2 separate regions of the Homo sapiens genome follow, and region 2 is linked to region 1. The links are contacts of gene promoters, found by promoter capture Hi-C in blood cells and fetal thymus (Javierre and others, 2016). All regions are on one chromosome and are shown on one strand. The core of a region is centred on a gene start or on the middle of the fragment in contact, and the rest is flanking DNA. Distances in the headings are between cores, read along the strand shown. Region 1 holds the start of CRLF2 (cytokine receptor like factor 2). Region 2 overlaps AKAP17A (A-kinase anchoring protein 17A).

Region 1 (6,060 bases), core at 1,437-3,936:
TCCCACAATCACTTCTGCTTTGCTTGTACGAAGGAGTGGTGGCAACCAACAGGAATCACCTGCTCTGCCTGGCACACTTGTGTTTTGACCGCAAGGAATCTCCAGGCATGAGCCGAGATCTTTTAAGATGACATGTCTGTTCCAACCAGCTCTCTCCAGACTTTTATTTATTCACTTATTTATTTATTTATATATTTTGAGACGGAGTCTTGCTCTTGTCGCCCAGGCTGGAGTGCCGTGGCACGATCTCAGCTCACTGCCAACTCCGCCTCCCGGGTTCACGCCATTCTCCTGCCTCAGCTTCCTGAGTAGTTGGGATAACAGGCACCCACCACCACGCCCGGCTAATTTTTGTATTTTTAGCAGAGACGGGGTTTCACCGTGTTGGCCAGGCTGGTCTCGAACTCCTGACCTCAGGGGATCCTCCGGCCTCGGCCTCCCAGAGTGCTGGGATGACAGGCGTGAGCCACCGTGCCCGGTCCTCTACAGTCTTAAACTGGGGCCCCATCTACCCAGCATATGCTACCATCACAGTGTTTGTGGTGTTACGAGGAGAATGCCTACAAGCTTGAGTCCCTTGGTCTGGGAAGCTGGTCAGCGGCAAAGGTGAACTCTGCGTTTGTCTGAAGACAGATGAACTATGAAGTCTCTGGATGTCCAGCCCAGCTTGGGTGCAGAGTATATCACAGAACACTGACCACACAACTGCACACTCATCCACGAGTCTCATCATTTAGCAGAGAGCAAGAATTCCGGGCTTAGAAAGTTAGCATGTCATATTTTTTTTTTTTTTTTGAGACAGAGTCTCGCTCTGTCAACAAGGCTGGAGTGCAATGGTGTGACCTTGGCTCGCTGCAACCTCTGCCTCCTGGGTTCAAGCGATTCTCCCCGTCTCAGCCTCCTGAGTAGCTGGGATTACAGGTGCGTGCCACCACGCCTGGCTAATTTTTGTATTTTTTTTTTTAGTAGAGACAGGGTTTCGCCATGTTGGCCAGGCTGCTCTGTGATATGCTTTCAAGCAAAGCTCAGGCCAGGTGCGGTGGCTAACGCCTATAATCCCAGCACTTTGGGAGGTCGAGGCGGGTGGATCACCTGAGTCCAGGAGTTTGAGACCAGCCTGGTCAACATGGTGAAACCCCGTCTCTATGAAAAATACAAAAATCAGCAGGGTGGGTGGCATGCATCTGTAATCCCGGCTACTAGGGAGGTTGAGGCAAGAGGATTGCTTGAGCCAAGCTGTTTGAGGCTGTGGTGAGTCCTGATTGCACCACAACACTCCTGCGTGGGTACCAGACGAACACCTTGTCTCAAAGAATAGGAAAGAAAAGCTGGGCACGGTGGCTCACGCCTATAATCCCAGCACTTTGAGAGGCTGAAGCGGGCCGATCACTTGAAGTCAGGAGTTTGAGACCAGCCTGGCCAACATGGTGAAACCCCATCTCTACTAAAAATATAAAAATTAGCCAGGCGTGGTGGTGGGCGCCTGTAATCCCAGCTACTCAGGAGGCTGAGGCAGGAGAATCGCTTGAACCCGGGAGGAGGAGGTTGCAGTGAGCCAAGATCGTGCCACTGCACTCCAGCCTGGGTGACAGAGAGTGAGACTCCAGCTCAAAAAAAAAGAAAGGAAAAGCAAGAGAAAGGAAGGGGAGGTGGGGAGGGGGAGGGGAGGAGAGGGGAGGGGGAGGGGAGGAGACGGAAGGGGGAGGGAGAGGGGAGGGAGGAGGGGGTGGGGGGAGGGGGGAGGGGAAGGGAGGGGAGGGGATGTACACATCTACGTATCCATCTATGCATGCATCCATCCACCCATCCACCTATGTATCTGTTCATCCATTTATCCATCCATCCACCCACCTATCCACACATCCTTTCATCCACTTATCCATCCATCCATATACCATCCATGGAGGGGAGGGGAGGGGATAGGTGGAGGGGGTGGGGGAAGGGAGGGGGACAAAAGATGAGGGGATGGGAGGGGGATGGGAAGGGAGGGGGTGGGGTGGGGGGGAAGGGGAAGGGAGGGGAAGGGAAAGGAAGGGAAGGGAGGGGAGGGAAGGGGGAGGGGAGGGAAGGGGGAGGGGAGGGGGAGGGGAGGTGGGGAGGAGGAGGGGAGGGGAGGAAAGGGAAGGGGGAGGGGGAGGGGAGGGAGGAGGGGGTGGGGGAGAGGCAGAAGGGAAGGGAGGGGAGGGGAGGGGATGGAGGGGAGGGGAGAGGGGAGGGGGAGGGGAAGTGAAAGGAAGGGAAGGGAGGGGAGGGGAGGGGGAAGGGGAGGGGAGAGGGGGAAGGGGAGGGGAGAGGGGAGGGGAGGGGAAGGGAAAGGAAGGAAAGAGAGGGGAGGGGAAGGGGGAGGGGAGGGGAGTGGGGAGGGAATGGAGGGGAGGGGAGGGGAGGGGGAGGGAGGGAAGGGAATGGAGGGGAGGGGGAGGAGATGGGGGAGGGGGAGGGAAGGGGAGGGCTCAGCTCAGCAGTGTGCGTGGCAGTCCTGATCCTGGATTGATTGTGTGTGTGTGTGTGTGTGTGTGTGTGTGTGTTCTTGACAAGTGTATCTTTGAAAATCAACTGTCACTGTGCTTCCTGCCTGTAATCATTTCCCTAGTTTCCTTTCTGACTTTTTAAAATCGATGGTGACCTCTGCTTATGAGTCATGAGTGATCTGTTCGTTGTAGGTCCCTGAGGACCTCACTCTCCACTCCTGTTTCAGGCATGGGGCGGCTGGTTCTGCTGTGGGGAGCTGCCGTCTTTCTGCTGGGAGGCTGGATGGCTTTGGGGCAAGGAGGAGCAGGTAATTATTTAAACACCCTCTTCTTGTTGTATTTTGGTTTGTGGTTTGCTTTGCAACCAGGCACTCTTTATTTTGTAAAACTTAAACAATGAGCATGGAGGTTTCTTTCTTCTTTTCTTTTTTTTTTTTTTTTTTTTCCGGGTTCAAGCAATTCTCCTGCCTCAGCTTCTCAAGTAGCTGGGACAAAACATATTTATAAGTAAATACATGAATATTAAGTATACTTATTGCTCCCGGAATATCCACTGCTTATATGAGCTTTCGGTGGCCAGAACTAGGAACTGTATGTGTGCGTGTGTGTGTCTATCTATTGATTGATTGATTGGTAGATATATTCATTTTTAATCTATCCATCAATGTATCTCATCTATCTTTTCCCATTAATCACCCATCCATCCACTATCCATCCATCTATTATTCATTGATCCATCCACTAATATATCCATCCACCCATCTATCAAACGATTCATCCACTCATACATTCACCCACCCATCAACCCACCCAGCCATCCGTCCACCCAACCTTTCATTCACTCATCCATCCATCCACCATCCACCCAGCTGTTATCTATCCATCCTCCCATCCACCCATCTATCATCCATCCATCCATCCATCCACCCATCCACCCATCCATCCACCAATACATCCATCCATCCATCCACCCATCCACCCATCCATCTACCAATACATCCATCCATCCATGCATTCACCCACACTTTTATCCACTTATCCATCCATCCATCCATCCACCCATCCATCCACCAATACATCCATCTATCCATGCATTCACCCACACTTTTATCCACTTATCCATCCATCCATCCATCCATCCACCCATCCACCCATCCATCCACCAATACATCCATCCATCCATGCATTCACCCACACTTTTATCCACTTATCCATCCATCCATCCATCCACCCATCCATCCACCAATACATCCATCTATCCATGCATTCACCCACACTTTTATCCACTTATCCATCCATCCATCCATCCACCCATCCATCCACCAATACATCCATCTATCCATGCATTCACCCACACTTTTATCCACTTATCCATCCATCCATCCATCCATCCACCCATCCACCCATCCATCCACCAATACATCCATCTATCCATGCATTCACCCACACTTTTATCCACTTATCCATCCATCCATCCATCCATCCATCCATCCATCCATCCATCCACCCATCCACCCATCCACCCACCAATACATCCATCTATCCATGCATTCACCCACACTTTTATCCACTTATCCATCCATCCATCCATCCATCCATCCATCCACCCATCCATCCACCCACCCACCCATCCATGTACACATCTACGTATCCATCTATCCATGCATCCATCCATCCATCCATCCATCCATCCATTCACCTATGTATCTGTTCATCCATTTATTTATCCACTGACTCACTCATCCACCCACCCATCCTTTCATCCACTTATCCATCTATCCATCCATCCACCAACACATCCATCCACCCACCCATCAAACCATCCATCCACCTATGCATTCACCCACACTTTCATCCACTCATCCATCCATCCATCCACCCATCCATGTACACATCTATGTATCCATCTATCCATGCATCCATCCACCCATCCACCCATTCACCTGTGTATCTGTTCATCCATTTATTCATCCATCCACTCACCCATCCACCCACCCATCCACTTGTCTTCCACCTATACACCCACCTGTCCATTGATTCATCCATCTACCTACCCATCCCTATCTATCTGTGTCTGTCTGTCTAACTATTTCTATCATCATCTATATAATTCTATCTATCTAACATTACCATTTATCTATCTATCTGTATCTATCTATCCTCCAGATACCTCCACTTAGAACCCAACATGACAAGGTTCACTGTACCCCATCTTTCCAAACCTGTAACTGACTTCTTTGACAGTGAGAGACTTGGCCGGGCGCTGTGGCTCATGCCTGTAATCCCAGCACTTTGGGAGGCCGAGGTGGGCGGATCACAAGGTCAGGAGATGGAGACCATCCTGGCTAACACGGTGAAACCCCGTCTGTACTAATACAAAAAATCAGCCGGGCATGGTGGCAGGTGCCTGTAGTCCCAGCTACTTGGGAGGCTGAGGCAGGAGAATGGCATGAACCCGGGAGGCAAAGCTTGCAGTGAGCCGGGATCGCACCACTGCACTCCAGCGTGGGCGACAGAGCGAGACTCTGTCTCAAAATAAAAAAAAGAGACTTGGCTTTCATTATGCAAAATATCATTACATGTTTGCTCAATTCTAAAATATTTCCATTGTCCCTGTTCGGAATTACAAACCCAGACCTCTTGAAACATCAAACCTACTGAAGTCTATGCAACCTTCCTAGCAAACGTAGAAAGTCTTCTTTACGGTTGGCCCATTTCTTTTCTTTTCTTTTCTTTTCTTTTCTTTTCTTTTTTTTTTTTGATAGGGAGTCTTGCTGTGTCACCCAGGCTGGAGTGCAGTGACACGATCTCGGTTCACTACAACCTCTGCCTCCTGAGTTCAAGCCATTCTCCTGCCTCAGCCTCCCAGGTAGCTGGGATTACAGGTACCCACCACCATGTCCAGCTCATTTTTTTGTGTTTTTAGTAGAGACGGGGTTTCACCATGTTGGCCAGGCTGGTCTCGAACTCCTGACCTCGGGTGATCCACCCGCCTCGGCCTCCCAGTGTTAAGATTACAGACGTGAGCCGCTGCACCTGGCCAGTCCATTTCTGAAGTTGGTGTGTGTGGTGTTTTGAGAAAGACAGTAAGGTGGATCGATGGGGACAGTTTCCGATGCCACCTTAGGTATCCACAGGGGATGTGTTGTTGGATACATGATTGATCTATACAGATACATCTGTGCATGGCACTAGTGGGTGAACTTACCTTTTGCAAAAACAAAAACAAAAGCAGCCGGGCGCGGTGGCTCACGCCTGCAATCTCAGCACTTTAGGTGGATGAGGCGGGCGGATCACGAGGTCAGGAGATCGAGACCATCCTGGCTAACACAGTGAAACCCCATCTCTACTAAAAGTACAAAAAATTATCCAGGCATGGTGGCGGGCACCTGTAGCCCCAGCTACTCGGGAGGCTGAGGCAGGAGAATGGCGTGAACCCGGGAGGCGGAGCTTGCAGTGAGCCGAGATTGCGCCACTGCAGTCCAGCCTGGGTGACAGAGTGAGAGTCTGTCTCACACAATACACTACACTACACTACACTACACTACACTACACTACACTACACTACAATACAATGCAATACAATGCA
Region 2 (6,060 bases), core at 2,892-5,391, 380 kb before region 1:
GAAGGTTTAACCGCCCTGTGAGCTGTCACCGCCCCACGAGCTCGGAGGGCGGCTCAGGGCAGCCCAGCACACAGCACGCCCTTAGGCGGGACCCACAGCGACGCCTCGAGGCTGGGCAGCTTTCAGAGGACAGCTCTCATCAAGCTCAAAGTTACACGTGAGGGCTGAACAAGCAAACATGCCTCATCTCCACCCACCAGAAAGAAATGCAGGAGGCTGCCCTGGGCCTCCCCTCATGCTCAGCCTCTGAGGAAGGACAGTGGGGGACAGCGGGGACAAGTACGGCCCTGCGTGTGGAGCCCTCCTGGCCAGCTCCCCCAGACAACAGGCCTGCCCCTCCCCGGGGCTCTGGACACCCCATCCTGCTCTCGAGAACCTCATGGCCCGGCCCCGCTTCCCCCAATCCCTCTGTGGTCTGGCCAGGCAGACGGGGTCCCTTCCCTGCAGAGACACACTCCACTACTCCAACGTCCATCTCTCCTCAGGGAAAGATCAAGGATGCAGCTTCTTCTCCGCACCCGCAAGCTGCTTTCTGAAATGTTGCGGGGACACTCCTGCGACACCGAGAGGTCCGAGGCTCTGAGTCCCACTCCACACTTCCAGAATGTGGACAGGCACATTCAGCCAGGCCTGGGCTGTGTCTGCAGCCTGGAAGAGTCCCTGTAACGCCCCAGGACTGTCTCCCACCCCAGCTGTCCTGCTCGGCCTGACAGTGGCTGACACAGGGGACCCGGACTCAACCCCACATCCGAACCGCCCCTCCCAGGGACCGCCTCCCAGGATGGCGACGCAGCAGCATGTCCCTCCCTCCCAGGGCGTCTGCCTCTCTGTGCTGCCTGCCTTAGGTCCTGGGAATCCTGACGGCTGACATGGGCCCCCCCAGCACATTCACGGCCACTCGCTTACACACTGCACCTGCCTCACCTAAGGAGCCCTCGGGGTTCAGATTCAGAGGCTGACAACCCGACTCTCCCCTGGGGAGGCAACGGGGGCTACGTAAAGAACACCACGGGCAGGATGGACCTGCTCCCAGGAGTTCAGTGCCGGGACTCTCGTGCAAACATCACCAGCCACACACATCAACACGCTGGCACCAGCGTCACATAAAGCAGTGAGAAATGGAAACAAAACGGACCAACTCGGTCCCACCAGAGGCTGTCCAGGAGCCCCCCAGCCAAGTCCAACACGTCCCAGACTTGATATCGGCGACATGAAGCGCAACAGACGTGCAGGACGCACCAAAGTCGTCAGAGGACACAGCGGGAGGGACGGAGGACGAAGAGGAGTAGGAGGAGGAGGATTCCGCCTCACTAGGAGGGTGGGAGGGACGGAGAAGGAGGAGGAGGAATCCACCTCACTAGGAGGACACGGCAGGAGGGATGGAGGAGGAAGAGGACGAATCCGCCTCACTAGGAGGGCACAGCGGGAGGGATGGAGGAGGAAGAGGAGGAGGAGGAGGAATCCACCTCACTAGGAGGGTGGGAGGGACGGAGAAGGAGGAGGAGGAATCCACCTCACTAGGAGGGTGGGAGGGATGGAGGAGGAGGAGGAGGAATCCACCTCACTAGGAGGGTGGGAGGGATGGAGGAGGAGGAGGAGGAATCCACCTCACTAGGAGGGTGGGAGGGATGGAGGAGGAGGAGGAGGAATCCACCTCACTAGGAGGGTGGGAGGGATGGAGGAGGAAGAGGAGGATTCCGCCTCACTAGGAGGGTGGGAGGGATGGAGGAGGAGGAGGAGGAATCCACCTCACTAGGAGGGTGGGAGGGATGGAGGAGGAGGAGGAGGAGGAGGATTCCGCCTCAGGGGATTCACAGAAAGTTGTTGGTTCCCTCCTGCAATGCTAAGAAGATAAAAGGGGCTACAAAGAGTGACCTGAGGTTGTCTCTGGTACCCCAACCACAGTGAACGACCCAGGCAATTGCTTTAAAGGCCTCTTATGTGAAACCGGGTTTTTGTCCTATCATTGGTTTTTTGTTTTTTTTTTTTTTTTTAAATCTGGCCATCACCATCAACCCTCTACTTCATTTTGTAAATGTAGCCTCAACCTAAATGCAAACTTGCAAACAGCCAAGGCATTCTGCTTGTTTCAGCGGGAGGTGTGAACAGCATGTGGAGGGAGAAGAGGTGGCTCTTCGGGCAAGGCGCGGTCCTGGGAGCCGGCAGAGATCGTGTCAGACCACGACGTGTGACAAGAAAAAGAGAAACATTCATATTCTGCTGCGTCTCAAACAGCCACTCACGCAGGTCCTCACGTGCACAGCTGAGCACCCACAGGCCTGCACACACACCCATACGTGCACACACAAGTACACACACGGGTTCACAGGCACACACGCATGCACACAGGCACATGTGTGCTATGTGCCGATACAGAAGCACACACATGTGGGCACACGTGCACATACACACACAGGTACACACACGAGCTCACACACATGCACGCACACACAGGCACACGTGCACACAGATGCTCAGGCACACACTCGGGCGCACATAGGGACATACAAAGTACACACACCGGTTCACAGGCACACGTGCGTCCATGCACACAGGTACACACACAAGCTCACAAGCATGCATGCACACACACACGCACAGGAATACATGCAGACACACGCACACGGGTCTGCGCACACTCCCAGGTGCCGGACACCAGCGCCGAGGGCCCGCTCCCGCAGAAGGTACCTTTCCTCCGCTCGCTGCCTCTCCTCCGCTTCCTTCTCTCTGCGCTTTTGTTCTTCTCTTTGCTGCTCCAGTTCCTGAAGCTTCTGCCTCTCCAGCTGCCGCTTCTTAATTGAGGCATCACTCAGGTGTTTGGTCGAATCAAAAGAAACCTTTAAAAGCAAAAACAGTGTCAGATGGCCTTCCCCCAAAACCCCCCAGACACACGGCCAGGCGCCCTCTCCTGGGCCGTAGGGCCGAGTGGCCTCAGAGCCTGAGCGCCCGCTCACCGCTCACCGCTCACCACTCATGTCCGGTGCAGACCCAGACAGTGGAGCCCAGAAGCCAAACCAATCCCTTCAAGTCACCATCAGTGGCTCAAGACTTAGCTCATCCCACGGAGTTACGACTCAGCGAGGAACACCAACTAGCCCTCGCCACTTACTGAACACAAGTGACACGCCACCGCTGCGAGACACAGCTCCCCTTCCGCTACCCGGCTCCACCATTCCCTGTGGCCACAGTCACTGAGCAGGCCGCCTGCCCACACCCACAGGGCACATCTTAAGGCCACAAAACCCCCTCCAGGAGGCTGGCTCATTTGTCACTGTGAAGCCAACACGGTCAAAACACGAGGCTAGGCTGAGCGCAGTGGCTCACGCCTGTAATCCCAGCACTTTGGGAGGGCGAGGCAGGCAGTTCATGAGGTCAGGAGTTCGAGACCAGCCTGGCCAATACGGCAAAACCCTGTTTCTACTAAAAATACAAAAATTAGCCAGGTGTGATGGCACGCGCCTGTAGTCCCAGCTACTCGGGAGGCTGAGGCAGAAGAATCGCTCGAACCCAGGAGGCGGAGGATGCACTGAGCAAAGATTGCGCCACTGCACTCCAGTCCAGGAAACAGATCGAGACTCTGCCTCGAAAAAAAAATAAAAATAAAAAAAATAAAAAAAATAAAAAAGCACATGAGGCTAAAGGGAACGTTCAGCCCTGGTTTCAAGGTGCATTCTGGGAAGGCCGGGTTCTCTTGGTTCTGACACGGTTCAAATCCCTGTCAGAGTTCCTGAGGCTCCATCCCTCACCTACTATATGACCTGTGTCTCCCCCACATCTTCCTTAAGATACCAAATTTCCAAAACCACAGCACGGGACCCCTACTCCACCTCACGCCTGTGCCTCTGAAATTGGACAGGCACAGGACTGTTGCTGCCATTTTACTTAGGGGAGGTCCCCACAGCCTCAGGGGTGTGGCTGGGAGCGTTCTGCTGACCCTGCTGGAAGGAAGTCGCCAGAGGGAGGAAGCGCGTGGCTCTCTCGGTGCCCAGGACTCACCTTGATGTTGCAGGCCACGGCCTTGCCGTCCTCGCCCTTGTACATGAGTTTCATCCCGCGCAGGGCGCTCATGGCCTGGATGAAGCCCATGTACTCGCGGTACTGCACATAGGCCTCGAAGTTCAAGTGCCCCCCGAAACTGAAGGTGTGGAAGTTGCGGCCCGTCATCTCCTCCCGGTAGGGGTCCAGCATGGGGATGTCCACATTCCGGATCTCCCCGAACTTCTCAAACACCTTGACCAGGACGTCCTCGCTGGGCTTCTCGGAGCCCGACTCCTTCAGGGCGAACCACTTGCAGGGCAGCCCCTCCAGGTGGATGGTGTCCGGCCGCTCCCCCGGCAGGGTCTCGTTCATGTCCTTGGCGTCGCGGAAGAAGGAGTCCCAGTCGTGGCGGGTGGGGAAGTCGATCTTGAACTCGGCCGCGCGCACCTTCAGGATGTCGGAGAAGCCGCTGAGCTTGATGGTCTTGCCGTCCAGGCAGGCCAGAAAAGACTTGACCAGGCTCTTGTTCTCCACCTCCCCCTCGAAGCGGATGAAGTCCATGGTGCTCTTGGAAATACGCAGCGTGGAGAACTGGTGGTTCTGCACCATGCCCTTCAGCCTCTCCATCACCTCCCAGTTGGAGATGGACTTCCCCGGCTGCTTCAGCTGCGGGAGTGCCACGCTGATGGTCATCTTGGTGATGGGCTTCAGGTACAAGCCGTAAGCAGGGCAGAGCTCCACGGCCTCAGACGTGTCGTGCACGATGGTAGCCGCTGCCATAGCCTCCGGGACCTTGGGCCTGAAACATAAGACGCAGACAGTCAGCACCAGCACCCCCCACCTCCCCCGCCAATGAGGAGGGGCCAAGCCAGCAGGCACTTTCTGGACCCGGAGAAGAGAAACAGCAGTGTCTCTCTGCCGTGTCAGAGACCGGTTTCCACTTTGTTAACAGCCATCTCAACGGAGTTCTTTACTTTTTGAAATCATTAAGAGTACACCAAAGGGGAAAGAGCCGAGCTGATAAAGAACAGGTTAGTGTCAAAGCCTCGGTCAGCACTGCCCGACACCCTACATCCAGCAGCCAGCAGCTCCCAAGGCCTGCAGAATAGGAAGCTGAGCACGACCAGGCCCCTCACACAGGTCAAGTAGGAACGGGGACGCTACAAACGCCTAGCTCCACGGGAAGGGGCAGAGAGACACTGGGGAAGGGAAGGGGCCAGGGAGAGCACAGCTGCAGGCATCTGGAAAGGTTTTGTGGAGGGGGCGGCGGCCCTGTACTTGCCCTGATAAAACAGGAAGTCTCGGGCTGCAACAACAATCCAGAACCATGAACCCTAGTAATCTCCACGAAGGCCAAACGTATCCCAGCTTTAACCCACTCAAAGCCAAAAAGTACAACGAACTTTCCACAAGTTAGGGGCCGGAGTCCCCCGTCTGCGCCTTCTTTCTCCGCCCACCTTCATTAACCCACCTCTTCCCTGCTGAGCTGACGGGCAGCCACTTCCTGACGGCCAAGTCCAAGTAGAGGAAGCTTCACTCGCAGAAACCCAACCATCTCAGGTGACCGCCTCCGGCCCGGCCGCCCACCCCATCAACCTGGAGGCTTCCTGCCAGGCCCAGGAGACGGCCTCCTCGCCCAAGCCCGAGGTGGGAGGTGCGAAAGAAGGGAGGGAGGGTGGAGAAGCGACCAGAAAAGGTCAGTGGGGCACCAGGGAGGGGCTCCAGTCTGGACAGAGACCAGTGAACCCTCCCCCAGAACCCAAGCGGCCCCAGCAACTTCACCACCGAGGAACCCTCCCCACTCTGGCCTCCAGCGCCCTCCGACCACCCCGGTACACCTGGCTGCCCAATCCCCAGTACGCGGCATTGCCCCTGGTATTCCCACCTACCGCAGCCCCCCAGCATGGCCTCAGGCTGCCGCTGGCACCCCTGGCAGGGCCCCACACATTCTCAGGCCCTTGGCCACTCGGTACCCTCAGCTCCTCAGTTCCCCGCTCCCCACCACCCTCCTGGATGAGCCCCAATACCCCAACCTACACAGCACCGCCCCAGCCTCCGAAAACCCCGGACAGCCCCTTGCTT

Evidence for each region. Contacts are between HindIII fragments. The CHiCAGO score rates a contact against its expected background, and 5 or more counts as called.
Region 2: a contact is called between a fragment that was not itself captured here and the fragment with the promoter of CRLF2 in region 1, in 1 of 17 cell types (monocytes). The highest score is 5.0, in monocytes.

What each region holds. Positions count from the first base shown.
Region 1 is chrX:1,209,275-1,215,334 of GRCh38, reverse strand. It overlaps CRLF2 (cytokine receptor like factor 2), which reads left to right and starts at 2,686. Exons shown (of 8, transcript NM_022148.4): 1 at 2,686-2,779. The coding sequence starts at 2,701. The HindIII fragment of the contact is 4,372 bases long and covers 570-4,941 here.
Region 2 is chrX:1,592,161-1,598,220 of GRCh38, reverse strand. It overlaps AKAP17A (A-kinase anchoring protein 17A), which reads right to left. Exons shown (of 5, transcript NM_005088.3): 2 at 3,997-4,777; 3 at 2,689-2,837. The coding sequence starts at 4,758. Among named protein-coding and RNA genes, the nearest start is that of AKAP17A, 3.6 kb to the right of the region's middle. The HindIII fragment of the contact is 2,741 bases long and covers 2,771-5,511 here.